Regions from separate parts of the Homo sapiens genome. Here all the other regions are linked to region 3. Evidence: promoter capture Hi-C in 16 types of primary human blood cells and fetal thymus (Javierre and others, 2016). All regions are on one chromosome and are shown on one strand. Each heading gives the region's core, a stretch centred on a gene start or on the middle of the fragment in contact. The rest is flanking DNA. Distances are from core to core; before and after follow the strand shown.

The links. The method cuts DNA at HindIII sites, captures the fragments that hold promoters and counts their contacts. A CHiCAGO score of 5 or more calls a contact.
Region 1: a contact is called between the fragment with the promoter of ZNF616 here and the fragment with the promoter of ZNF382 in region 3, in 2 of 17 cell types (activated CD4 T cells and non-activated CD4 T cells). The highest score is 10.6, in activated CD4 T cells.
Region 2: a fragment that was not itself captured here is called in contact with the fragment with the promoter of ZNF382 in region 3 in 1 of 17 cell types (naive CD8 T cells); the score reaches 6.0 in naive CD8 T cells.
Region 4: a contact is called between the fragment with the promoter of ZNF613 here and the fragment with the promoter of ZNF382 in region 3, in 5 of 17 cell types (non-activated CD4 T cells, total CD4 T cells, total CD8 T cells and 2 more). The highest score is 14.7, in non-activated CD4 T cells.

Annotation. Positions count from the first base shown.
Region 1 is chr19:52,137,983-52,145,478 of GRCh38, reverse strand. It overlaps ZNF616 (zinc finger protein 616), which reads left to right and starts at 5,541. Exons shown (of 4, transcript NM_178523.5): 1 at 5,541-5,747. It also overlaps the pseudogene RPL37P23. RefSeq lists silencers at 5,246-5,295, 5,306-5,585 and an enhancer at 5,706-5,945. The HindIII fragment of the contact is 2,387 bases long and covers 5,198-7,496 here.
Region 2 is chr19:56,384,075-56,391,020 of GRCh38, reverse strand. ZNF582 (zinc finger protein 582) reads left to right here. Exons shown (of 5, transcript NM_001320371.4): 3 at 520-646; 4 at 925-1,020; 5 at 5,837-6,946. It also overlaps the pseudogene SLC25A36P1. Among named protein-coding and RNA genes, the nearest start is that of ZNF582, 6.0 kb to the left of the region's middle. RefSeq lists an enhancer at 6,161-6,946. The HindIII fragment of the contact is 1,923 bases long and covers 1,744-3,666 here.
Region 3 is chr19:36,603,705-36,610,707 of GRCh38, reverse strand. It overlaps ZNF382 (zinc finger protein 382), which reads right to left and starts at 5,395. Exons shown (of 5, transcript NM_032825.5): 1 at 5,361-5,395; 2 at 3,086-3,156; 3 at 655-806; 4 at 1-58. The coding sequence starts at 793. It also overlaps a transcript of ZNF529 not described here. RefSeq lists enhancers at 4,944-5,003, 5,984-6,123 and a silencer at 5,364-5,423. The HindIII fragment of the contact is 5,073 bases long and covers 1,952-7,003 here.
Region 4 is chr19:51,921,514-51,928,748 of GRCh38, reverse strand. ZNF613 (zinc finger protein 613) reads right to left here and starts at 1,277. Exons shown (of 6, transcript NM_001031721.4): 1 at 1,209-1,277. RefSeq lists enhancers at 1,339-1,638, 1,494-2,257. The HindIII fragment of the contact is 2,177 bases long and covers 386-2,562 here.

The DNA.
Region 1 (7,496 bases), core at 4,292-6,791, about 16 Mb before region 3:
CAGCAGTAGCTCATCTGCAACTGATAAAACTCACATTTGAGAAGTGGTTTGAGGGGCAACAGCAAGTTAAAATTATAACAAAGTCCAAGTCAAGGCCATAGCCCTAACGTTCTTTGAAATAACCTGCCAGTTGATTAAGGTAACTCTTGTGAAATTGTTTTTTGAGAGTGGATGAAATGGCAAGTGTAGTAAATAGAAACTAGACTGTGGCCCAAGAAGTTCAAAAGCACTGGAATAAAATTCTGAAACTAAGGAAGGGTTCCTAAAACTCGTGGGTATAGCTAAAGTCATGGGTTTAGCTTTGAAAATGTCTCTATTTTGAAATGGCATCAGATAAAATGCTATCTTTTGTTATACTTTTCATAATGTTATACTTTTGAGACTTCTATCAGTCCATAGTATTTTATAAAAACAAAATTAAATTTAGACTTATAATAGTCTTTGGGATGGTACATTGAAGTGGAAAAGAAGTAGCTGGGGAAAGATGCTTACTGCAGAAGGAGGGCATACTTTCTGATACTGCATGAGGGATGTCATCGGGTGAAGTTAAGAACGACAAAATATAGTGGACTGGAAACCTATTCTCAGGAGAACTGTAGCCATGAAAAGTACTGTTATTCATTCCTGACCTCCTGGAACCAGGCCCTAACTCATCTTCTCAGCAAAATTGCACATTTGCTATGGACCTACTGGGTAGTACCTTCTTTGTTTCCCTTTTCTGAATGTGAGGGTTAATTCAGGTTTTATTTTTCTGTTCCACCATGAAATGTCGTGAGTGACGAGGACTCTATTGGGCTCTCAGTGAACAGAAGTGTCATGAGACTGTCATGAGATCCTTGCTTGCAACTGAAAGTTATGTTTGGGCTTTTTTTTTTAAAAAAAAATGTTAGAGGAAGTGGAGGTGAATATTTTGTGTGGGCAAAAGAGGAACAAATTATTTCTGATGGAAGCTGCGCTGTCACATATTGTAATATTTCGAGACAGGGTCTCGCTCAGTCACCCAGGCTGGAGTGCAGTGGTGCGATCTCAGCTCACTGCAACCTCCACCTCCTGGACTCAGGTGATCCTCTTCTCTCAGCCTCCCAAGTAGCTGGGACTACAGGTGCACACCAGCATACCTAGCTAATTTTTGGATTTTTTTGTAGAGATGGGGTTTCGCCATGTTGCCCAGACTGGGAGAAACATATTTTAAGGTATAATTAGCATGTTGTGTTGTTAAAATCTCAGTGATAAACTTGCATATTAGCAACAGAGCTCTTGTTTCCACATTATACAATTTCAGTTTATTTTCTTGTATCATTCCAATGCTTTCCCTGAACTTAAAATAAAAGGGATCCTCCACATATTGGTGGAACACATTCTTTGCATCTGTTATTTTTCTATTCTTTTTTTGCCACACAAATCTGAGAATGTCACCTCGATTTTTGGATCCTTCAAGTTCTTCAATGGAAGAAATGTAAGTCCATAAATTGGGTTAAATGGTTTCTAGTGGAGTGTGTAATGATAAAAAATTATTTTTAAAATGTAGTTTTGGCTGGGCTCTGTGGCTCATGCCTGTATTCCTAGCACTTTGGGAGGCTGAGGTGGACAGATTGAGCCCAGAAGTTTGAGACCGGCCTAGGCAACATTATAAAACCCCATCTCTACTAAAAACACAAAAACTGAGGTGAGAGGATCACTTGAGCCTGGGGAGGTGGAGGCTGCATGAGCCGTGATTGCACCACCACACTGCAGCCTGGGCAAGAGAGCAAGATCCCATCTCAAAAAAAATTATATTACAGTTGAAAAATCATAGAATACAATGTTTAATATGATAACTCAAATATGCATTGTTAGAGCCTTTGAAAAATGCAATTTTATTAAATTATTTAATATTTATTGTCTGATAAATTTAATTTTTATAGTGCATGTGTAAAAATATTATAGACAATTTGAACAGTATTTCAGAAGCACTTTCAACAATTATATTGTGTAAAGTGTCCTATGTATGCATGAATAAAGGACATGTATAAAGTATTTAGCATGAGGAAAATTGAGTCTTTCTCAACCTAGGCATCATAAGTTTCAGGAGTAAACATTCAGTATTTTTTTTTGTATTTTTTAAAACCAGAACATTTATTGCATGACTAATCATAGACATTCTTAAGATGAACTGGATGCTGCAACAGCTGCCCTCTTGGGTTTAAGTATTGTTCCTTCATAGAATCCATGCCTGAATCTGTGGTATACAATTTTTAGGTGCCTCATTCCACCAGTTCCGGTGGTATTTTGTCTTTTAGCCTTGGCACTCCAGTTATACTTTCTCTTGCGCTTGGCAGCGTAGCCACATTTGCCACAGGTCGACTTCTGAAGGTGGTAGGCCTTAGAGCCACGGCGGCAACACAACGTGTGCGTCTTATTGCGACGCTTTCCAAACAATGACGTTCCCTTCGTCATCTGGCTTCTGCGGCCAAGACCAGAGAGACCGGAAGAGAAGGCACTTCCGCTATATCACGCTCAGAAGCTCAACATTCCGTGTTGAATTAGAGTCTGAGCCGAGATGGCATTACTGCACTACTGCTTGGGTGACCGGAGCCAGACACTGCCTCAAAAAAAAAAATTCTCCCAGGCTCAAGCAATTTCCAACCTCAGCCTTCCAACTAGCTTGGACTACTGGTGCACACCATTACCCTTGGCTAATTTTTGTATTTTTTGTAGAGATAGAGTTTTGTAATGTTGCCCAGGTTGCTCTTGAACTCCTGGGTTCAAGCAATCTGCCCACCTCAGCCTCTCTCAATGTGCTGGGATTACAGGCGTGAGCCACTGCACCCTGCCTTGTTCCTTTACTTGCTTAGTAAACTTGCTTTCACTTTACAGTGTGAACTCACCCCTAATTCTTTCTTGCATGAGATCCAAGAACCCTCCCTTTTGGTTGTAACTGCCCAACAGGTTCTCCTTCCCTGCTGCCTAGACAGAGCTGATTCATCAAGACAGGGGAATTGCAAGAGAGAGTTTAATTCATGTGGAGCTGGCTGTACAGGAACCTGAAATTTTTTTATTACTCACATGAGTCTCCCTGAAAACTCGGGGATCAGGGTTTTTAAGGATAATTTGATAGGTAGGTGTCAGTGAGTCGGGAGTGCTGATTGGTTGGGTAGGAGACGAAATCATAGAGATCTGAAGCTGTCATTTTGCACTGAGTCAGTTCCTGGGTGGGGTCACAAGACCAGATGAGCCAGTTTATGGATCTGGGTTGGTGTCAGGTGATCCATCAAGTGCAGGGAATGCAAAATATCTCAAGCACTGATCTTAGGTTTTATAATAGTAATGTTATCCCCAGGAACAATCTGGGAAGGGTGAGAATCTTGTAGCCTCCAGCTACATGACTCCTAAACCATCATCTCTCACCTTGTGCCTAATTTGTTAGTCTTACAAAGGCAGTCTAGTCCCCAAGCAGGAAGGGGGTTTGTTTTGGGAAAGGGCTGTTAATGTCTTTGTTTCAAACTATAAACTAAGTTCCTTCCAAAGTTAGTTCAGCCTATGCCCAGGAATGAACAAGAGCAGCTTGGAGGTTAAAAGCAAGATGGAGTTGATTAGGTCAGATCTCTTTCACTGTAATAATTTTCTCAGTTATAATTGTGCAATGGAAGTTTCAGGTTCTGGATCAGGACCCCTTTCTGGTAACACAAGGATGGTTATGAATGCATCCAGATATCCAAAAAGTTATCTCTGAAAGCCAGAGATTTCCTTTCCCTATGGGTTCTTCCCTTGCATGTCAACCCAAGGATTCACTGGGGACCTAGAATTGTGCAGGGCAGTTAGGAAGAGAGAGACAAAAGAGAGAAGAGGTGAAGTAGTTTTGAAGAAGAGAAAGAAGGTCCCATGCAGCCTCAGTTTTTTTTCCAACAAACTTTTCATGCTGGGAAATAGGATCCTGGTTTATTTGTGGGAGGGATTTTATAGGAGGGTGAGAAAAAAATGCCCTTTGAGGGTAGAGTCTGTGGAGCCCTAATTGGGGAAAAGGAGTCAGCCTGAAAGGACCAGGAGAAAGCAAAGAGATAAAGCAAATAAGCTATAAATCTTTCTTCATGGTCCAGAACATATAAAAAAAAATAGAGGAAGCAGATAAGCTGTAGGTCTCTTTTTCTTTATGGCCAAGGACATATGGCCTTTCTGTGGAAAGAACGTAAATAAGTCACAAACTTTCTGCTTTCATTTATCATCAAACGCCTCAGCTAACAGAAGAATGCAAGTTAGCTCCCTGCTACCTTGGCCTCCCAAAGTGTGGGGATTATAGGCGTTAGCCACTGCACCCAACCAAATCTCCTCTTCTCATGGCTCACTGCAGCCTTCACCTCCTGGGCTCAAATGATCCTCCTTCCTTACCCTTCCGAGTTGCTGGGCCCACACGTGCAGGCCACCATGTCCAGATAATTTAATTTTTTGTAGAGAGGTCTGGCTATGTTGCCCAGGATGATCTCAAATCCCTGGCCTCAAGCAATTCTGACACCTCAGCTTCCCAAGTAGCTGGGACTACAAGAGTGCATTACCAAGCCTGGCTACTTTTTGTATTTCTTGTAGAGATGGGGGTCTCACGATGCTGTCCAGGCTGGTTTTGAACTCTTGAGCTCAAGTGACCTGCCCACCTGGGCCTCCAAAACTGCTGGCCCATCTCAAAAGACTTAATCCATTTCAGTATCAACTCTCAAAAGTCTTAATCCATTCCTGTATCAGCTCTTAGGGCAGAATACCCCCTAAATATTATCTGAACCACACATGGGTGAGAATCAAGGTGTGATTCATCCTGAGGCAAAATTTCTGCCCAGCTGTGAATCTGTGAGGCCAGAGAAGTTATCTGCTTCCAAAATATAATGGTGATAAAGGCATAGGATACATCCCCCAGCCCTGGTAACCACCCTTCTAATCTGTTACTGTAAATTTGACGTTTGTACTTTGCACGTGTAAAAGCACAGGCAGTATTTGTCTTTCTGTGTCTAGCATATTTCGCTTGGCATAATGTCTTCCGGGTTCCTGGATCCAGCCACGGCTCCACATCAAATCCCCAGCGAGATCCTAGTTCCCTGACTATTGAGTAGCTTCAGCATCATCGGCAAGAGTGGATGGAGTCCACCAAGCTTGTAAAAATCGGTTTTGACTTAGTTCAACTTGTTAAGAAATCATCTTAGTTTCTAATATAAGTGGACCACAACTTTAAGCTTTAACCTTAAATTTTGAAACATTAACTTAAAATAGGCAGGCAGCAACGCTGCTTCACAGGACAAGAAGTAGTCAGAAAACCAAAGACATGCTGCCTGTGAACCAGAGTAAATAACAGGCTCTATTTCGGCCCCGCTTACCCCATGAAACCCCGCCCCATCCTCCGCCGCGGCTCCGTCCCGCCCCACCTAGCCACGCCCACTGCCGCTCCGGCCCGGCTCCACCCTCTCAGGGTCCCTCCCCGAGTCAGGCCCCTCTTTCCGACCCGCCCCTTGCTGGTCGCGGCTCGCCCAGGCCCCGCCCCCTGGCCTCCCAGTTTTTTCTCTCCGCTAGCAGTTTCCGTCACTCCCGGAAGCAGATTGCGCCAGGGAAAGGCCTTATCGCTGTGTGTGTGTTTCAGTCTACGTGGATTAAACATTACTTCGCTCCGTCTGCCTGGATTAAACGTGCACTTTGCAGTCCTCACTTCTCCGTACCAGTGATCTGGGGATCGCTACGGACCTTAAAATACCCATAGCCCCTTCGCCCCTGCAACAGGCACTTCTCCCCACGTAAGTCCGAGAATTGCTTCCCTGTCGGTTTAAAATCTCTCTCAGGCTGTTCCTTGCCCCCTGCCTTTCTGCCATGTAGATAACCATGTCGATAACCCCATTCAGGTCGTGTTCCTGCTTAAAACTCTCATTGACCCCTGCTTCGGCCCCGGGCGAAGTCAAGTCCTCCCTCGCGAGGTGGATTCCCACCAGTCGAGACCCCCGAGCTTCGCCCTTGTCGACGCCTGGAGGGGAGCGCCCGCTGCCCAGCTCCTGAAGGAGCCGCTTCTTCTCCCAGGTCCTGGGATTCTGCAGACCCTCCCTGTCCTGAGACACCGTCCCCCGCGCCACCTAGTGTCCTCCGCGCGCCACCTAGTGTCCTCCTCACGCCGGGTCCTTCCCCTCCCCAGGCTGCCCCTTCACAGCCACTGCTTTTCCTGACTCCGCGTTGCAGGAGGTCACCCGAGTCTGTCTTGTGACACCCACTGTCGTTCCTTCCCAAATTTTTACTCCACTGGAAAATGTGCTCTTCCGGGAGGTGGGCATCGTATTCCTCCCCTTTCCTCCTGAATGTGTGGGTGAGAGGGATCAGGAGAGGAAAAGAGGGGGAGCGACGGGACAGAAAGAAAAACTGGGGAGAAAAGAATGAGTACACGGCAAAATGGATGATAATTTAGGTACTGGCAAAGAGAGCAAGAGTGCAAGAGGACGCATGGAGAAAGTAGCACGGGGAGAAAAGCACATAAAGAAATTAGGGAAAAGGGAGAGCTTCAGGGAGCTGAAGGGCAGCAAAATAGAGAGGGGCGGCAAAGGAGGAGGCACTGCAGTCAGACGCGGGGGGCGGAAAAGGTAAGAGTCGGAGCCGCGGCTGACAGAGCCACGTGGTGCTGGGACTGAAGGAGAGGGGAGTGGGTAACAAAGGAGAGTAGAGGGAGAACCACAGCAAGGAGGAAGCCTAGGAAGTTGGGGGTGCTAGAGAGTGGGAACAAAGGAGATGTAACAGGGAAAAGGGAATTTAACAGGGAAGAGGGATTTTAACAGGGAGAGCAGACAGGGAGCTCAGATGGGGGAAAAGAGGCAGGAATACGTGGCGGCTGGGGACAATGGGAAAGTTTGGGGAGAAAGAGCAACAAGAGGTGAAATAAATTTCGAAGCATTGGGCAGAATAGACATAAAAGAGGGAATAAAGAAAGGGGAGAAAAACAGCAAAGGGAAAAAAGACGTGCAGAATGAGAGCGGGAAACACATAGTAGTGAAGAGAGTGGGCGAGGACCCCACCCAGATGAGCTGTGAGTTGATTGGATATGGATGGTGGTTTTAATGTATTGATTTGTGACTTTATACTCTAATTTAAAATTTGTTTCTTTAAATTGTACTCATGAGGATGAAAATTACCACTCTTTTCTACAAGGCTTGTGCATTTTGTATTTGTTTATATCAAAAGATATTTGGAATCCCTATTTAGCCACAGGGCAGTGACTTGATTCAGTCATTTTGTAACTCTTCTTTCCAGGGAGGGAGTAGAGGATGGAGGAGGAGAGAAATAGGCAAGAAATGACTGACTGTCACTACAAGATGTATCTTTGGTTTTTTGTTTGTTTTTTCTCTTTTTGAGACAGGGTCTCTGTCGCCCAGGCTGGAGTGCGGTAAAATTATATCGGCTCACTGCAGCCTCTCAGCTGCACTCCATCCTCCTCAGCCCCTGAAGGTGCTGGGATTACATGTGTGAACCACCTCTACAGGCCTACAATGTATGTCTTTGAAGGAGAG
Region 2 (6,946 bases), core at 1,456-3,955, about 20 Mb before region 3:
TGCTTGTGTTATGTTCCAACATAATGATGAACTTTCATCTCCAAGAAATTCTTGACTTACATGAAAATCCTGTATCTAAGATAGAAAACATGTTTCCATAATTTTAAAAAATAAAATATTTGGGGAAAATCCATCAGAAATATTTTTTGTTGTTATTGTTATTCCAAAAGATAGAAGTGATAGGTCTCACCTTGAGAATTTATTGTATGCCAAGTATAGAGTGGGCAGTGTGCTTTATTACACTGTTTCTTAACAATAAGGAAAACTCCATTTAGCTTGATTTTAATTTTCATCCCAGACCTGTACACAGAGCATTGATTTGCAGTTAAAAGGAATGTTTGAGAACAATTTGATCATTCTGTTTTACTCATCCCCATTTCTTCTGTCACCTTTCACATTCAGTCCCACCCTTCTTGTTCAACAAAACAACCCCCCCTCCCGCAAAGACCTGCCCCATCTCCTTTCATCCCACTGTGAACCATTGAAATACATATATATCATACATGCCTGTCATTCCAGGGGTCAGAATTGTTCAGGGATGTGGCCATAGTCTTCTCCCAAGAAGAATGGCAGTGGTTGGCACCTGCTCAGAGGGATTTGTACAGAGACGTGATGTTGGAGACCTACAGCAACCTGGTCTCACTGGGTAAGGTGATCTCGTCTGTTAGTTTGGAGGTTATCCTTGGGCATGTTCCTTCCTGGTCAGTTTTTGGGTGCTTTTCAGTCTTATGATTGGTTGGTCATTTTTGAGGGGTTAAAGGGCGGCGCTGTCGGCTGAAGCTGCATCCCCCTACCCCCAGGCAACTGTCCCATCTTCCTCTGGCACTTCCTGCAACTGCCTCTCCTGCTTGATGACCAGGTCCTGGATCTGAATTCTGGGGCCCCCACACCATAACCAGGTGGCATGTTTCTTCTCATCTCCAGGTCTTGCCGTTTCCAAACCTGATGTGATCTCCTTCCTAGAGCAAGGCAAAGAGCCCTGGATGGTGGAGAGAGTGGTGTCTGGAGGCCTGTGTCCAGGTGAGTGAGGTATCATTGGGAAGGGAGCAGCCACTGCAGGTATCAGGTCCGCTGGAAGTGGCCCTTTGTCTTAGAAGATCTTCCCTGCAGGTTGCTACCTTCAAAGCTTATGTCTTACGTGTTGTTTTCCTCAGCTCGTCAGCAGCATTTGACAAAGGTGGCTGCTCCTTCCTCCTGAAACACTTTAAAAATTCAACCTGGATTATAGGGCTAGACTGAGTACAAATATGGTGGTTCCTAAGGAAAGTATTTTGTCTTTGGAAAGATGTCTGTATCTTTTGACCATTTTTCTTTTTTTATTAATTTTAATTTTAATATTTAAAATTTTTTTTAACTTCAGGAGTATAAGTGCAGGTTTGTTAAATAGGTAAACTTGTGTCATGGGGGTTTGTTTACAGATTATTTCATCACCCAGGTATTAAGCCTAGTACTCATTAGTTACTGTTCCTGATTCTCTCCCTCCGCCCAACCTTCCATTCTCTGAAAGGCCCATGTGTGTTGTCCCGCTCTGTGTGTCCATGTGTCCTCATTTAGCTCCCACTTATAAGTGAGAACATGCAGTATTTGGTTTTCCGTTCCTGTGTTAGTTTGCTTAGGATAATGGCTTCCAGCTCCATCCATGTCCCTGCAAAGGACATGATCTTGTCCTTTGACCATTTTTCTAAAGGAATTTGTATCGGTTTGTTTGAATTCTGGAGTCAGTTAACAAGTACTTATTAAGCTTTTATTATGCACCATGGAATATGCCACAGTATACATTGATGAGGCAGGTGGACATTATCCTTGCTTTCATGGAACTTACACTGCAGTGGGAAAATAGACATGAAATCATACACACTGGACATGAGCTAATATGTGAAAGAAAAAGAACAGGTTCAGTCAGGGTGCATGGTAGGGCCAATGGCCTCTTCAAGGATAAGGCATTTCAGCTGAGACATGGAAGGTGTGATGTAGCTGGGGAATACCAGTTGTAGCCAATGAGTGTGAAGGACCTGAGCAGGGAGCCCTTGGTACCTCTGAGATAATGGATGGCCCTTGTGGCTGAGGTCAGTGAGCAAAGGGAGGAACACAGAGATACACTAGGGGCCGGGCATGGTGGCTCATGCTTATAATCCCAGCACTTTGGGAGGCTGAGGCGGCCAAATCACTTGACCAGTCTGGCCAACATGGTGAAACCTCGTCCCGACTAAAATCACAAAAATTAGCCGGGTGTGGTGGCACGTGCCTATAATCCCAGCTACTTGGGAGGCTGAAGCAGGAGAATCGCTTGAACACGGGAGGCGGAGATTGCAGTGATCCGAGATCGAACCACTGCGCTCCAGCTGGGGCAACAGAGAGAGACTCTGTCTCAAAAAGAAAAAAAAAGATACGCTAGGAAAGGCAACCACGTTATGAAGTTTGGGTTCTGCACTGTGGGCAGAGGGAAAGCACTGTAGAAATAGAGGCAAGCCATGATTTTATGGTCCACCTGGAGAGGATATAAATATTGTGCTTCTCACAAATTATTCACCTGCTAGTTTCAGAAGTCATTGATAGTTTTCTCTTGGATCAGATATGATTAATAGTTACAAAATAGTGATTTTTAAAAAAACTTTATTCTTATTTATTAGATCACATACTCCTGTAAAGAAGAGCTTTCTCCCTTTCACCATTTGTTTCTTCATTTATATCATATGGATTAATAGTAGGTGGCATATTTTTTCTCATTTCCAGGTCAGAATAAAATAAATCTTGTTTTATCCTGTAACAGATTATTACCCATTATCATTATTTATCACAACGTTCATAGTTTTCCAGACTTGCCCAGTGACACCCTTTCAAACTGGCTCCTGGGTTCTTTGGACATAATCCCCCCCCCCTTTTTTTATAAGCACGTTTTTAACTTTTTTAGTTTCAACAATTCAGTAAAAGCTAGTTAACATAAATACAGAAGAAGTCCACACAATTGACATCCGTGTACATAAATGCAAGAATGCCAAACCTCACATGAACCAAAAAGTATCAGCTCTTACAATGTTGACTATTTAGCTATGACTAGTAGGTCATAAATCTTCGCATAAGCAAGGGTACACATTCAAATGTTTTTTAAAACTAAGAATAAAACAATTTTATGTTTCTAAAAGGAGAAGCATAAAAGTCAATCTGTCGAAGAACATAAGGATGTGATAGAAAAGAGATTTGCGTGGGCACAAAGTTAATACACTGTGTTAATACTTTTACATATTAAAATCCCTCTGCAGCCAGGCGTAATAACTCATGCCTGTAGTCCCAGCTACTCAGAAGGCTGACAGAGGAGAATCACCTGAGCCTAGGAGTTTGAGGTTGTAGTATAATATGATTGTGCCTCTGCACTCCAGCCTGGGCAACAGAATGAGACCCCATCTCCCCTGCAAAAAAGAAAGAGAAAGAGAAATACTTTGGAGGCAAACTTTATATAGAACGTTTGTATATAGTTTTTTTTTAAGTCATCAGTGTCATACTTAAACTAAAATGCAGATTGTGTTTTTGTCTCCAAACTGATTGTAATACTTTTGAGTCCAATCAAAACACCTCAGAAACATCCAGTTACTGTTGATTACAATAAATGTGACATGCTGACAGAATTTAAGAAGGTACAGTTTTTCACTGGTGAGAGCAGTAAAAGCTTGGTAATTTTCAATAATGTTGGGATCACTACAGTGAATAGATCTGCAGAACAACATATCTAAAACCCAGACAAATGTTAGGAATACTGGTTCTGTTGAATAAATGACCAATGTTTTTATAGAAATACGTAACATAGAATTCCCTCCTGCTCTTTCACCCTCAATAAATGCTATAAAGTGCATTCACAAAGAGCCATATTAAGATAAAGCTACTGCACAAAATACAGCACTCATATATACTGAAATGAGTAGTATCACACTGGAGTTTAATTGTGCACATTTTATATACCAGTATAGCAACATCCTTAGCCAGAAGTCTCAACAGAATTATCATGAACATAAACGTTTAAGGGTTATATACATATATCAATTTAAAGTATGAAAAGGTGCATTTGAACTTCATGGCAACATTTAAAAATGATATCCTTGTTAGCACATCACCTTGAATCTATGATGTATGATTCAGCAAATTAGGACAGAATCAAATTCTCAGCAAAAAGTACTTTGAGGCTGGGGATGGTGGCTCACGCCTGTAATCCCAGCACTTTGGGAGGCCAAGGCAGGCGGATTGCTTGAGCCCAGGAGTTTGAGACCAGCCTGGGCAATATGGCGAAACCCCATCTTTACAAAAAAGCACAAAAATTAGCTGAGCATGGTGGTGCCCACCTGTAGTCAAGCTATATCTGAGTCTCTTTAAGTCAACTGGGGTTGGTTGCTATAAGTACAGTAAAACCTGCCACTGTAGCTGAAATAATGTACCAGGTAGAATCACAGTCCATTATAGCATTCAGCTTTTTCATGCAGTTTGAATAATCAGCAAAGTATGTTGCTCTAGAAGGACCCACCCTCAATCAACTGGCCTAATCCTCTAAACAAGGAAAAAAGCCCTTCTTTTTCCAAGGTCACCTTTAAGAAATGAAAAGGTTCAGGTAAATGCATGACATTTAAGAAATTTAAGAAATGTCATTCAGTTGATAATGGGCTTCAGCCATGGCGTTCAACTAAACTTCAGATATAAAAAACACCATGGTGTTCAGCTAAACTTCAGATATAAAAAGCTTCACAGAGGAAGACAGCAGCCATGTCATTCTAACTTCTAGCGGACACATGAGAATAGCTGCCACTGTACCAGCATATTCCTCTGGTTCATTCTCCTGCATGTCCTCCAGGCACTGAGGCAGGTTGCAGATCCAACCACACACTTCCAACACCACTTTTATTTTTATTTTTTAAAACTGTGGTAAAATACAAGATTTACCGTGCTCACCATTTTCAAGTGTACAGTTCAGTAGTGTTAAGTACATTCACACTGTTGTACAACCATCATCACCGTCCATCTCCGGAACTCTTTTCATCTTGAAATCCCCATCATCTTTTTAAAATTCACTCTTTTGGGGGCATAATTTATGGTCAATAAAATGCATTTTTAAAATGTGCTATTAATGAGTGTTGACAAATTTATACACCCACATAACCATCACCTCAATCAAGATAGCGAACATTTCCATCAACCCAAAAAGTTCCCTTGTGCTCCCTCCTGCACAGTCCGTCAAACCAATGATTTGCTTTGGTTTCTGTCACTCTATATTTGTCTTTTCTAGAGTCTCACAGAAACATTTACTGTCTTAAAAAATATTGTTCAATAGTGATTCTGACCCACACCAACTCTTTTTTTTTTTTTTTTAAAGTCTCCCTCTGTCACCCAAGTTGGAGTGCATTGGCGTGATCATAGCTCTCTACAGCCTCTAACTCCTGGGCTTAAGCAGTCTTCTTTTCTCAGCTGGGACTACAGGCATGTGCCACTGCAGCTGGCTAATTTTTAAAAATTATTTTGTAGACATGGGGTCTTGCTGTGTTGCTGAAGCTGGTCTCAAACTCCTGGCCTCAAGTGATTCTCCCTTCTTGGCTTCCCAAAGCACTGGGATTACAGGCATGAGCCACCATGCCCAGCCCCACACTAACATTTTAGAATCACTTTTATAACCTCTCTTATTGCCTCCCTCATCTCATGTATGTTATTTTCCTTTCACTGTTCTACTTGTCCATTTTATAATTGCTTAGCTACATTCAAGAGTTAATAGGCATTGAGTCTAAACCCTCCAGTTCTTATTTTAGTTCCTTTATCTGGAAAAAAAAAGAAGCCAAACATATTCGCTTTTTTTCATTCTTAGTATTGGAGTCCAGATATGATACCAAGGAATTATTTCCAAAGCAGCATGTTTATGAAGTCGAATCACCCCAATGGGAGATAATGGAAAGCCTTACAAGTTATGGTCTTGAGTGTTCAAGTTTCCAAGATGATTGGGAATGCAGAAACCAGTTTGACAGACAACAGGGAAATCCAGACAGACATTTCCATCAGATGATCATCAGACATGAAGAAATGCCCACTTTTGACCAGCATGCATCCCTTACTTTTTATCAGAAAATTCATACTAGAGAAAAACCTTTTGGGTATAATAAATGTAGAAAAGACTTCTGGCAAAAGGAACTCCTTATTAATCATCAAGGAATTTATACTAATGAGAAACCCTATAAATGTAAGGAATGTGGGAAGGCCTTTAAATATGGCTCACGACTAATTCAACATGAGAATATTCATTCTGGTAAGAAACCATATGAATGTAAGGAATGTGGAAAGGCCTTCAATTCTGGTTCAAATTTTATACAACATCAGAGAGTTCATACTGGTGAGAAACCGTATGAATGTAAAGATTGTGAGAAGGCCTTTAGTCGAAGCTCACAGTTGATTGAACATCAGCGAACTCACACAGGCGAGAAACCCTATCAGTGTAAGGAATGTGGCAAGGCCTTCAATCGGATCTCACATCTTAAAGTACATTATAGAATTCATACTGGTGAAAAACCCTATGCATGCAAGGAATGTGGGAAAACCTTTAGTCATCGTTCTCAGTTGATTCAACATCAGACTGTTCATACTGGCAGGAAACTCTATGAATGTAAGGAATGTGGGAAGGCTTTTAATCAAGGCTCAACTCTTATACGACATCAGAGAATTCATACCGGTGAGAAACCCTATGAGTGCAAAGTATGTGGAAAGGCCTTTAGAGTGAGCTCACAACTCAAGCAACATCAGAGAATTCACACTGGAGAGAAACCCTACCAATGTAAGGTATGTGGTAGGGCCTTCAAACGGGTCTCACATCTTACTGTACATTACAGAATTCATACAGGTGAAAAGCCATATGAATGTAAGGAATGTGGGAAGGCTTTTAGTCATTGCTCACAATTGATTCATCATCAGGTTATTCACACTGAGA
Region 3 (7,003 bases), core at 4,146-6,645:
CATAGCTCTTCTCCTTGTTCCAACTTGCGGATCATATCAGGCTTAGCCATGTGAAACCCTGATGATGGAAAATGAGACTTTTGGTCTAAGCTGTTTCGACTTTAAAACTATTGAAGTAAGATAAAGATACAACTTCAAGGTAGTAAATGAGGTATACATTAATGTCTTACCAAAGTTAATACCTTACACTACACAAGTGATGATATAATCATATTTTCTTTTCTTTCTTTCCTTTTCTTTTCTTTTTTTTTTTTGAGACAGTCTCACTCTTTCACTCAGGCTGGAGTGCAGTGGTGCAATCTCAACTCACTGCAACCTCGTCTCCCAGGTTCAAGTGGTTCTCGTGCTTCAGCCTCCAGAGTAGCTGGGATTACAGGCATGTGCCACCACACCCAGCTAATTTTTGTACTTTTTAGTAGAGACTGGGTTTCACCATGTTGGCCAGGCTGGTCTTGAACTCCTGGCCTCAAGTGATCCACCTGCCTCGGCCTCCCAAAGTGCTGGGATTACAGGCGTGAGCCACTGTGCCTGGCAATATAATATTTTCTGCCAAAAAAATAATCACCTCTAATCCCTGAAATTCAAAGTCCTATATGTTTCAGGAATTCTTAGAAGGAGATGCATGACAGTGAAAGATTCAGGAGTGTTTCTTACCCACAGATACGAAGTGGCAATAGTTTTCCAACATCACATCCCTGTAAAGCGCCTTCTGAGCAGGGTCTAGTTGCTGCCACTCCTCCTGGGTGAAGTCCACAGTCACATCCTTGAATGACACTGATCCCTGTAAGGGCATACTCTAGTTCATCCTGAAGTGATCGGAAATGTGTGAGAACTAGATATTGGAGACCTAGTACTGACAATGTTTACTGGTCAGACTAGTTTCCTTATTTATGTTTTATATTGCATAAAATTCTCTCTGAAAATACATCCATTTGTATTTACTTATAATCTCATGCTAAACATACTGAGATCACACTATTTGTCCTGAATGTGACTGGTTGCCTGGTAGACCAAAATGAATAAAACCCTGACCCTGCTCATGAGAAGTTATAGGCTAAGAGAGGGGCATACATGTAAATACATGCACTTAGTAGGTTTTACAGATGCAATGACAGAAATACGTACAAGGTAAAGTGTCACAAAACAAGGAAAAATTTCATTTTGTACTCCGAGGCTTCATTGAGGACATAAAAGTTTTGTACTCACAACGAATTTGTTTTGTAGGAATACAGGGCATCAGCTTTTAAAAATTCATGGGGAGAAAAAAACCAGTTAGTAAATCAGGAAATAGCAAAAGGCACAGTATGTTAGGAAACAGTCTTTGAGCTCTAAGAAGGAAAAGGTATATGGAGATAGGCAATGGGGATATTATGACATGATACTAGATTTTTTTTTCCTACAGAACAGTGGTCTTAAAGATATACTGAACACATTCCCAACATTGTAGCTATTTATAAACCATCAATAGGCATTTATGAAAATCTACATTGTTAATGAATACTGCTCTCGAATGTAAATTGTTAGTATTTTATTTCCTTCCAATAGACCGTCTTATACATTCTACTGTGAGGCATGCCCTACTTTGGGTCTGTTGCTTTAAGGAATGTAAAGAACATCAATAAACATAAGTTGACACACGTTATGTGATAAAAGTTTTGAGGTAATACTCCTGAAGACTGGAAAAGGCTTATCACATGTTAGGTGGAAATGACAATTAAGTAACCATGGTTAGAAATGTCTCCTAGATTAAGGAAGTGTCAGCGGGCTGACAGAGGACAACTGCTCCTACATGACCACCATTACAACAGAGATGGTCGTAAATTGGCTGTAGAGTGGAAAAGATACAGGCATTTTATCTGCATAGGCAAATGCATGGCTGCTGGGACTAGAAAGTGAAAATGGGAAACGGAAGAAAATGTAAGCTGGACCAAAGGAAGTAATGAGGTAAGCTTTGGAAATGTACTTTGTCTGTGGAACATACAGGTGGTGATAGCTACTGGAGGTTGAATATTCGGTTCTGACACTCTGGACAGAGGTCTAGAGTGGAGAGGGGTATTTGAGAGTCACTAGAATCACACTAAGTGTAGCCTTCAGAGTGAATCTGATTGTGCGTAGAGAAAAACGGACTGTGAAGAAGAAGAGAACCAATTAGCATCTGAGGAAAACCAGTATTTTAAAGGTTGGTGGATGAGCTAAAGAGGAATTTTCTGAAAGATATGAAAAGAGGACAAAGTACTGTTTGATCAACAATAGAATATTTCAAAAGTGGCCTGGCATATGGATTTCCTTCTCCTGCACCCGCAAATAAAAAATTAGAAGAAACTAAAAAGAAAATAACAAATCTCTAACAGCATTGGAATACTGGAAAGGTTTTCACTGGCAGCCCACAATTTGTAGGAATGGCTAGCAGACATGAATGAAAAAAGATCAGAGAGGAGGAACATAAAACGTGTTTCCTTTACAAGCCTGCAATCAAATTGCTATCCTAAACACCTCACAAAGCAGGACATCTTTCCAGAAACTAATGCTGGGATCTACCACTTCTATTTCCCAACGTACCATTGCAAAACCTAGGCTAGCGGAGATCATCAAGGTTTTTCCACGTCTGCTCCATGACTACTCACAGCTTAGGTCTCAAATCAGCATCAGGACAAGTTAAATTCATTCAAGCCATATATTCCCATTTAAATCAAGACAATACCTTTCTATTCCAGCAGTTTGTTTGTGAGAAGACTGAGAAAGGAGATGATGAATGATATACCCAATGAATATGTACAACCAGAAGGTACACTTGGGGAAGGCTTAAGTTGATTTGGTTGGAATGGAGAAATTGTGAACAGGGCTGGATACAGGGTGAGGCAGGTGAGGCACCTAGAATGCAAAATTTAGGAGGGCACAGCCCTGAGGGTACCCCTTAAATATTTCACCTCATGCCACTTGCCTGCCTCAGCCTAATCTGGCCCTGACTGAAGACTAATTTCATGGAAGCAAATCCCAATATCAGGGAAGGTTAAAGGACAGTGAAGCTCATGTTCATACACCATGAAAAAAAGTTATTTCAGAAAGAGAGGAAACATCATCTCACCTGAGACATGGCTTTGAGATTTCTAGATGAACTTTCTCTTTTGAGCTCCTCTTTTGGAAAAAGAAACAGTCCTGAGAAAGCAAAGATGGAGGATATACGTATGTGAGACCATACTTGACTCAGAACTCCCAGAATTAACTCAGTTAAATCTGCATGAATGTTCACTATTTCAGCACTTGTCCACCCTGTGTACCCTTCAGATGTCCAGGATGGTAGTTAGTGGGAAAACAGACAAATCAGGCTCCCTCACAAACACCAGAAACCCAGTCTCTTGGTAAAGTATACAGGATTCTGGGGAACCTGTTTTAGCTTGAAGAGAGGGAACACTGTGTTTTTCCCTCTGCAGCTCTGCCTTCCATCTACCTCTAACCACAGGTTTACTGTGTATTTCCAAACGGTTCTTCTTGGACTTTTTGCCAATTTACACTGATAGTAGTGGATGAGAATACCTTCCCAAGCCCTGATGAAGACAGTTGACAACTTTTAAATCTTTGCCTATCTGGTCTATGTTGTAGTTGAGAATAATCTTTTTTTTTTTTTTTTTTGAGACAGAGTTTCACTCTTGTTGCCCAGGCTGGAGTGCAATGGTACAATCTTGACTGACCGCAACCTCCACCTCCCGGGTTCAAGCGATTCTCCTGCCTCAGCCTCCTGAGTAGCTGGGATTACAGGCATGCACCACCATGCCCGGCTAATTTTGTATTTTTAGTAGAGATGGGGTTTCTCCATGTTGGTCAGGCTGGTCTCGAATTCTCGATCTCAGGTGATCTGCCCACCTTGGCCTCCCAAAATGCTGGGATTACAGGCATCAGTCACTGCACCAGGCCCGCAAAATAACTATTTTAATTACTACAGTGAGACTGGACTTATTAAAAATCTATCAAATACTTTTTATTATCTTAGCAAGCCTAAGGGAGTAGGAAACCTCACTCATATACAAGTGTTGAAAGTGGTAGTTATGCCAGGCACAGTGGCTCACACCTGTAATCCCAGTACTTTGGCAGGCCGAGGGGGCGGGGGGAGGGGATCACTTGAGGTCAGGAGTTCAAGACCAGCCTGGGCAACATGGTGAAACCCCATCTCTACTAAAAATACAAAAACTAGCCGAGCGTGGTGGCACAAGCCTGTAGTCCCAGCTACTCAGGAAGCTGGGGCAGGAGAATCACTTGAACTTCAGAGGTAGAGGTGGCAGTGAGCAGAGATCATGCCACTACACTCCAGCCTGGGCAAAAGAGCAAGACCTTGTCTTAAAACAAACAAAAAACAACAACAAAAGTGGTAGTTATGGTAAAAAAAAAAAAAAAAAAAAAATTTCCTGCATGTCCCCAATGGAATGCTATTCATTTCAACATACTGGTTTTAGTTAATATGGTGTTTCCAGGAAATGAATCTGGGAATTATGAAAATCATCTCTTCCCCTCTGATACTGTTATCTCTATTTTATTTGCTAAATTGCTACTTAGTTACAGTTTTGGAGGCAGGCTTAATGGCTACTATTCAGATAATCAAGTCTTACATAACCAACTAGCCATGGTCATAACAGAGTTCCTCAATCATTCAAATATTTAGGTCACTAAGGCCACAAAACCACCAGAAGTAACAGTAGGTTACAAACACATGCAGAGTCACAGTCAATCAAACATCCTTCAGAGAACCACCAACCTACAGGCCCCACTTGTCATTCACAACCTCAGACAGCAGCTAACACGACTCCAGGCAGTCACAACCACACCTACAAATCACTTGCAATTCTCCACACTCAAAGGCAGTCTCAAATGCGACTCACACCTAATCTAAAAATAGACACACGCAGAGGAAACCTCGCGCAGCAACACTACTCCGTTCACTTTTCACACACAATCGGCCACAACATCCCAAAGAGAGGCAAGCACCTAAAATGCAGCAGGTTGGGCGCAGGAGGCCACCCCTATTCAGCGCGCGCCCGCGCGCGCGAACACACAGCGCCCGCTCCGCGCGGGGACCCGCCGCCAGCGATGGCGCTTCCGCGGGATCAGAACGGGCAAAATCCCCCTTCGCGGAGCTCGCTCCGGGTCACCCTCAAGGTCACGCCCATGGACCACGCCCGAGGCCCGGCTCGTACAGATCGGAGCGTCTGGATACCGCGGTCCCGGTTTCCTCCTCAGAATTTCCAGGCCCGGCTCGGACTCTTGGTTACCTCCCTGGCCTCCCCACCCGGTTCCGCGTCCTTAGACAGCTCTCCCGGAACGGAGCTCCCAGTGCCCTCCTTGGCCTCCTCAGCACCCCTGGCACCCACCAAGCCTCACCCCCGGCCCAGGGTGAGTCGTCTGCGCCTGCGCACTCGCGCGTGGGCCTGAGCTCCCAGGAGTCTCCGGGGCGGCCCGTTAGTCGCCGCGCGGTGCTAGCTGCCGGCGCTCCCCTCCGTTTGCACCCACGGCCGCCCTATTGCGGCTGGCACTACGCTTCTGCCAGGACCCCGGCTCCCTTTTCCGTTGACCTGGTGTTCGTTTTCCATGTGGTGAGTTGAGGTGACCCGGGTCTGGATGCGAGAAGAGCTCACGGCAGGGGACCTGGGTTCATGGGACGCGGAGAGGGTTTGTGGAGGCAGAAGCCCCAGGCCTGTGTGCAAGTCACCTGCTGGGGAGGGAGACTGTGTGATTGTGTTTGTGTGTGCCGTTCTGTGGCTGCGTCCGTGTGTGGTGGTGTGAGTGGGCGCGCCTGTGATGGTCCCGGGGGGGCGGGGGGTGTGCACAGCAGGGGGTGTGTGTGCACAGCAGGTGCACAGCCCGGGACAGCCCTGACTGTCCCCGATTGGGCCCGCGGGACTGAGTGGGGGCGGGGCCGTTTGTGTGACGGCGCTGAGCGGTGACTATGAATGTGTCATGCTGTTATCAGTGATCCTGTGACAGCGCTGTTGTGACCCACTGGAGACTGTGATCAAAACTGGCCTGGTGCAGCTTTTGTAGAGTTTGATTTCTGCAGTTCTGGGGCTCAGGAATACGTGGACAAGGTCCCCGTATGGCTCGATCTGTGTCTGTGAAGACTCTGAGACCTTCTGTTCTAAAGCATGGCCCCTGTCGCTTTCATAATGCATAATACACAGTGGCATGCAGCCTCGCCAACCTCTGGGGCCAATTTTAAGTTACGTGGTTTCTTGGAGTTTGTTATACTGGGATTTCTTTCACTGCCTCAGTCATTTCACCTTATAACCACGTTGCACAGTGTGCAGTCAAATGGCTATCGAAAAGAAAGTTGGATATTTGAGATCCAGAATGAAGTTTCCAACTGAAAAAGCACAGCCTTGTGTTTCACATGGACAAGGCTGTGTTCTGATATGCACAGCCTCGTGTTTGATATGGAGATGTTAGAGCTGGAATTGCTCCCAAGGCAAGGTTCTGGGAAGATATGATATTGAGGCCCCAGGAGTAGGATTCGTTTCTCCAAAGATTTTGTGTGTGTGTGTGAGATGGAGTTTTGCTCTTGTTGCCCAGGCTGGAGTGCAGTGGCGCAATCTCGGCTCATTGCAACCTCCGCCTTCCGGGTTCAAGCAATTCTCCTGCCTCAGCCTCCCGAGTAGCTGGGATTACAGGCATGCACCACCATGCCCGGCTCATTTTTGTATTTTTAGTAGAGACGGGGTTTCACCATGTTGGTCAGACTGGTCTCGAACTCCTGACCTCAGGTGATCCACCCGCCTCGGCTTCCCAAAGTGCTGGGATTACAGGCGTGAGCCACCGTGCCTAGCCAAAAGATCCCTTTTGGAAGCTCTGTGGGGGCAAGTTGAATATTGCAGATCCACAGCATTTTCATAGCTGTCTAAAGGAAATTATTGTGAATACAGAAACATTTCAGTCCCAGGCTTTGGTGAACCTGACTTTTCTTTATGAAGGGAAGAGTCAACAATATTCCAGTCTTTCTCATACTTCCATCTGGTCATAT
Region 4 (7,235 bases), core at 28-2,527, about 15 Mb before region 3:
CGAGTAGCTGAGACTACAGGCGTGTGTTACCACACCCAGTTAATATTTGTATTTTTTGGAGAGACAGGCTATGTTGTTCAGGCTGATCTCCAACTTCTAGGCTCGAGCAATTCGCCCACTTTGGCCTCCCAAATGCTGGGAATATAGGCGTGAGCCACCGCGCCAGGCCACCTTACCATTTTAGATTTGATTAATCTTTGATCTTCCCCAAAGCTTTCCTATTTACCAGGATGAGAGAAAGGAGAGATGTGAGAAGTCAAATGAGATTTGTAAACCAGTCCTTGCAGAGAAACTTAAAAGGGACTGAGAGGGAATGTACCGTTGGACCTGAACACACACACCAATCAGGATGCCCTGGCTGCCAAGGCTTCAGCCTTCACAAGCTTCTCCACGACTGTCACATCTAGACCTCCCTAACATGGTCACACCCCCTTAGATTAATCCAAAAACCTGGACCACACACCTAGGTTCACATGAACCCGGGCTCCTCCTCACTGAGTCGCATATTAAATCCTGATTACAGCCTGGAGCGAAGGCTCACGCCCGTAATCCCAGCACTTTGGGAGGCCAAGGTGAGAGGATCGTTTGAGGCCAGGAGTTGGAGACCAGCCTGGGCAACATAGTGAGACCCCCGTCTCTGCAATAAACAGATAGATTAGATAGATAAATTAGATAGATAGATAGATAGATAGATAGATTAGATTAGACAGATTAGATAGATAGATAGATAGATAGATAGCGTGGTGGCGCTCACCTGTAGTCCCAGCTACTCGGGAAAGCTGAGGTGGGAAAATCACCTGAGCCCCGGGAGATGGAGGCTGCAGTGAGCCACGATTGCGCCACTGCACTCAAGCCTGTGTGACAGAGCGAGACCCTGTCTCAAAAATAAAAAATAAAACCCCGAATCCGAAGCAGACACAGTTTTCCTTGACAAAAACCACTCCTCACTCCAGTCCTCAATCACCGAGCCCTACAGAGTGACCCGCAAAGGCACCAAACCCTGATCACGGACTTCCAAGTGTTGCTCTGGACAGACTCTGACCACCGACCACTGGGATCCCTCAGGGCTGACTCCGGAGACGCCCCAACCCCAATACCCCGACTCCCACTTGCTCCCGCTTCCCCCACAAACTCCACGGCTCCGCACTAAACGGACGCCCACAGACACCCTCCTCCCCTCATCCTGACAGACAGACCCACACACAGACCTGATTTTGCGGGGAACCCACCGAGACTTCCCAGAACCTGCACTTTCCTGAATTATTCCACTTCTGGGCCCTCCCCCAGCCTCCAAGCCGGCCTACGGCGGCCGAGGAAGGTCTGAAGTTGCAGGTGTACGGAGCACGGACGACTGGGAGGTAGTAAGTTCGCGTCCTCTCGTCACGGATACTGGAGGCAGCCATCTTTGAATCCTGCACGTACGGAAGGTAAAGTGGACCTTTTCTGCCCAAGTATTCAGGGATAGCGCGGGACGGTGAAGAACTCCATATTTTGGCACCTAAATCCTGCGCCCAAGTTTCATTTATTTTCAGAGGGTCGAGCTTAGCCAAGACAAACATGGTATGGCTACGTGCACCTTAGCGGGCTGGGGAGAAAAGTCATCCGCTTTGCACAAAGAATGACGGGAATGACACAATGGGCGCGGCCATCTTAACACTTAGGTGTCCGTACAAGTGAAAACGCTTTCTCCACAGAGGAAAAAGAGCAATCGCACCCTGAGTCATATACCGCGAAAACGCATCTAGCTACATGTGGAGGACAAGAGGAAGATTTTTGAGGACCAAAAGGGTGTGGAGAGGCAATCGAGGTACGAGGATATTGTTCACCCCGTCAACGGAAAGTGAAAAAACAGCGACCCCTGGAACCTCATTTACATTTGAGGGACACGGTCACCGCCCAGTGCAGGTAAAGAGAGCAGCCACCAGCCAACCGGAAAAGGAATCCAATGCGGGAGGCGGGAATTTTCCTTAAGAGAGAAGAAGGGCCTTCCCTCTGCTGTAGGTGGAGTCAATCTTAACGTCGGGGCTTTCGGAGAACCAAGTGCCTAAAATTCTGGAAGGAATAAATAAGGCGACTCTGGGAGAATGAAAAGTTGTGCAAGCCCGGGCGCGATGGCGCACACGTGTAGTCCCAGCTACTGGGGAGACCAAGGCAGGAAGATCGCTTGAGCCCAGGAGTTCCAGGCTGCAGTGAGCTATGATCGCACCTATCAATAGCCACTGCACTACACAGCCTTGGCAACCCCTTCATGAGGAAAAAAAGAAAAAAGAAAAAAAAAAGTTGTGCAAGAAAAGTAATCATAGGATACTACCTGACTGACCTATAAATATTATTTACATAGTCATCATAACGTAAATTCTAATTCTGATCCAACCTAAATTAAGACAATTCCATTGGAAGAATGAGAAGGAAATTCCTGCATGCAGTGGAGTGTTTATATTTATAACAGAGTTTTCACGTGTCCTTCATGATACATCTATAGAAAATGCCCCAAAATGCAAACTCCATTTCAGAAACATACCGTGTTACTTAAAATATCAAATCTGTGAAGAGTGAAAAGCTTTACAGAACTATATGACTCCTTAGGAGAATTGCAAAATAAAAGCAAGAATCTTATGACTCAGGAATTCCACTCCTAGATACTTATACAACAGTAATGAAATGATATGTCCTCACAAAGACTCACAAGAATGTTCTTAGCACCTTTATGCATAATACCCTGAACAGGAAACAGTCCAAGTGTCCATCAGTACATGAATGTATAAGCAAATTGCAGTGTAATCATACCCTGGAATACTACTGAACAATAATAAAAAACAAATCATAGATGCATGCACCAACATAGATAAATCTCAACAACCTTATGAAGGGGGCCAGCCTCTCCACACCTGTGGGTATTTCTCATCTGGTGGGATGAGAGACTGAGAAAAGAAATAAGACACACTGACAAAGTATAGAGAAAGAACAGTGGGCCCAGGGGACCAGCACTCAGCATACGAAGGACTCCTGCCAGCACTGGTCTCTGAGTTTCCTCAGTATTCATTGATCACTATCTCTACCATCTCGGTGAGGGGGATGTGGCAGGACTATAGGGTAATGGTGGGGAGAGGGTCAGCAGGAAAATATGTGAACAAAGTTCTCTGTGTCATAAATAAGGAAAGGTGCTGTGCCTTGATGTGCACGTAGGCCAGATTTATGTTTGACTTTACACAAGCATCTCAGTGTAGTATAGAGCAGTATTGCTGCCAGCATGTCTCACCTCCAGCCATAAGGCAGTTTTCTCCTATCTCAGTAAATAGAATGTACAATTGGGTTTTAAACTGAGACATTCCATTCCCAGGGATGAGCAGGAGACAGATGCCCTCTTCTTATCTTAACTGCAAAGAGGCCTTCCTCTTTTACTAATCTTCCTAGGCACAGACTCTTTATGGGTGTTGTGTTGGGGGATAGTCAGGTCTTTCCCTTCCCATGAGTCCATATCTCAGGCTGTCTCAGCAGGGAGAAACTTTGGACAATACCCAGGCTTTCTTGGGCAGAGGTCCTTGTGGCCTTCTGCAATGCATTGTGTCCCTGGGTACTCGAGACTGGAGAATGGTGATGACTTTTACCAAGCATACTGCCTGCAAACACTTTTTAACAAAGCACAGCCTGCACAGCCCTAAATCCATTAGACCTTGGACATGAGTCGACACAGCACATGTTTCTGTGAGCACAGGGTTGGGGCTAGGGTTACAGATTAACAGCATCTCAAGGCAGAAGAATTTTTCTTAGTACAGAACAAAATGGAGTTTCTTATGTCTACTTCTTTCTACATAGACACAGTAGCAGTCTGATCTATCTTTCTTTCCCCTACACTGGTAACATAGTCATGTATATCATTAACAAGAATTACATACTATCCATATTTTATGTGTTGTATTTTATATGACTGGAAGAGCAGTAGGTTTGTCTACACCAGCATCATCACTGACAACTGAGTAACACATGCTACTACCTTGAGATGGCTACCACGTCTCTAGATGGCAGGAATTTTTCAGCTCCATTATAATCTTTTTTTTTAATATATACTTTAAGTTCTGGGGTACATGTGCAGAACGTGCAGTTTTGTTACATAGGTATACATGTGCCATGGTGTTTTGCTGCACCCATCAACCCATCACCAACATTAGGTATTTCTCCTAATGCTATCCCTTCCCTAGCCCCACAACCCCCAACAGGCCCCGGTGTGTGATGTTCCCCTCCCTTTGTCCATATGTTCTCACTGTTCAACTGCCACTTATGAGTAAGAACATGTGCTGTTTGGTTTTCTGTTCCTGTGTTAGTTTGCTGAGAGTGATGGTTTCCAGCTTCATCCATGTCCCTGCAAAGGACATGAACTCATCCTTTTTTATGGCTGCATAGTATTCCATGGTGTATATGTGCCACATTTTCTTTATCCAGTCTATCATTGATGGGCATTTGGGTTGGTTCCAAGTCTTTGCTATTGTGAACAGTGCTGCAATAAACATATGTGTGCATGAGTCTTTATAGTAGAATGATTCGTAATCCTTTGGGTATATACCCAGTAATGGGATTGCTGGGTCAAATGGTATTTCTAGTTCTAGATCCTTGAGGAATTGCTACACTGTCTTCCACATGGTTGAACTAATTTACACTCCCACCAACAGTGTTAAAGTGCTCCTATTTCTCCACATCCTCTCCAGCATCTGTTGTTTCCTGACTTTTTGATGATTGCCATTCTAACTGGCATGAGATGGTATCTCATTGTGGTTTTGATTTGCATTTCTCTAATGACCAGTGATGATAAGCTTTTTTTCATATGTTTGTTGGCAGCTCCATTATAATCTTAAGGGACCACCATTGTGTGTGCAACCCATCATGGACTAAAATGTTGTTATGACTGTTTCCCTATTCCAAGTAATCTGTTGCTATATAGCAAGCCAGCCCAAGACCTAGAGATGTGAATTTACTTTTATGATCTGCATGGATTCACTGAGTCAGGAAGTGAGACATGGTGATGGCTTGTATGTTCTGGGGATCGCAAGATCTGGGGTTCCTCAGGTTCAATAATTTGTTAGAATAACACAGAGCTCAGCAAAACTGTCATATTCATGATTTTATTTTATTACATAGACTGGATACAGTTAAAATCAGAAACAGAGAAAGGTGTGTAGGGCAGGGTTTGGGAGATGCTGTGCAGAAGCTTTGAGTTTTCCTCTCTCTGTGGAGTCATATGGACAATGTTTGATTGTCCTAGCCATGATGTGTGACGACAGGCATGATGTATTGCCAGTACAGGAAGCCCACTTGAGCCTGGGTGTCCAGGGTTTTTATTTGGCTTTAGTTATATGGGTGAGGCTGAGCACATGAGTGGCTGACCTTATTCTTCAGCCCTTTCAGAGGCCACCATAACTACAGTGTGGCCCAAGGCTTCCATCATACATTGTTAGCATAGACGATCTTGTGTGACCCAAGGCTCCCAGTAAACAAAGACCCTCATCGGACAATATATTCCAACGGCTTAGAGTAGGAGTGTGCAGTCTTTTGGCTTCCCTGGGCCACACTGGAAGAAGAATTGTCTTGGGCCACACATAAAATATACTAACACTAACAATAGCTGATGAGCTTAAAGAAAAAAGAAAAAAAACTCAAAAAATCTCATAATGTTTTAAGAAAGTTTACAAATTTGTTTTGCATTCAAAGCCCTCCTGGAGGCCAGGCACAGTGGCTTATGCCTGTAATCCCAGCACTTTGGGAGGCTGAAGTGGGCAGATCACTTGAGGTCAGTAGTTCCAGACCAGGCTTGCCAATATGGTGAAACCCCGTCTCTACTAAAAATACAAAAAACTATCTGGGCATGGTGGCACATGCCTGTAATCTCAGCTACTTGGGAGGCTGAAGTAGGAGAATTGCTCGAATGTGGGAGAATCGCTTGAACTTGAGAGTTGGAGGTTGCAGTGAGCTGAGATTGTGCCCCTGCACTCCAGCCTGGGCAACAGAGTGAAACTCCATCTCAAACAACAAAAACAACAACAACAACAACAAAACAAAGCCCTCCTGGGCTGTGTGCACCACCACCAACAACAACAAAACAAAGCCCTCCTGGGCCATGTGCACCCCATGGTCCGCAGGTTGGACAAGCTTGGTTTAGAAGTTACCTGCCAGGTATAGGGAAGGGCTGAGCCTTTCTTTGGAATGTTCAGTTTCTGGGTAACCCAGACTCGCTCTGTTTATCCTTTACTGCACAGCTTGTCTTCACACCATGATGTCTTGAATCTCAACTGGAAGACTCAGAAGGTTGGGGACTGGAATCATCTGAAGGCTTCTTCCTCTCTGTATCTGTGTGCCAGGCTGGGATTACTTGAAAACTAGGCTCAAGGAGGCTGCCAGCCAGAGCACCTGTGTGTGACCTCCACATGTGACATGGATGGGCTTCTCACAGCATGATGCTGGCTCTGAGACAGCCAAGATGCGGCCACAGGGCCTTTTCTGCCTTAGCCTCAGAAGTTATGTTGTGTCACCTCTGTTGCATTCTGCAGCTAGCTCAGTCGGTAGAGCATGAGACTCTTAATCTCAGGGTCATGGGTTCGTGCCCCATGTTGGGTGCCAGATGAAGGAGGCCTGCCCCTCCACACCTGTGGGTATTTCTCACAAGGTGGAGACGAGAGACTGAGAAAAGAAATAAGACACAGAGACAAACTATCGAGGAAGAAAAGTGGGCCCAGGGAACCGGCACTCAACATACGGAGGACCCGCACCAACACTGGTCTCTGAGTTCCCTCAGTATTTATTGATTACTATCTCTACTATCTCGGTGAGGGGGATGTGGGAGGACTATAGGGTAATGGTGGGAAGAGGGTCAGCAGGAAAACGTGAGCAAAGGACTCTGTGTTATAAATAAGTTTAAGGAAAGGTGCTGTGCCTTGATATGCACATAGGCCAGATTTATCTTTGACTTTACACAAACATCTCAGTGAAGTAAAGACAGTATTGCCCCCACCATGTCTCACCTCCAGCCATAAGGCAGTTTTCTCCTATCTCAGTAAATAGAATGTACGATCGGGTTTTACACTGACACATTCCATTCCCAGGGATGAGCAGGAGAGAGATACCTTCCTCTTATCTCAACTGCAAAGAGGTCTTCCTCTTTCACTAATCCTCCTCAGCACAGACCCTTTATGGGTGTCAGGCTGGGGGACAGTCTGGTCTTTCTCTTTCCATGAGGCCATATCTCA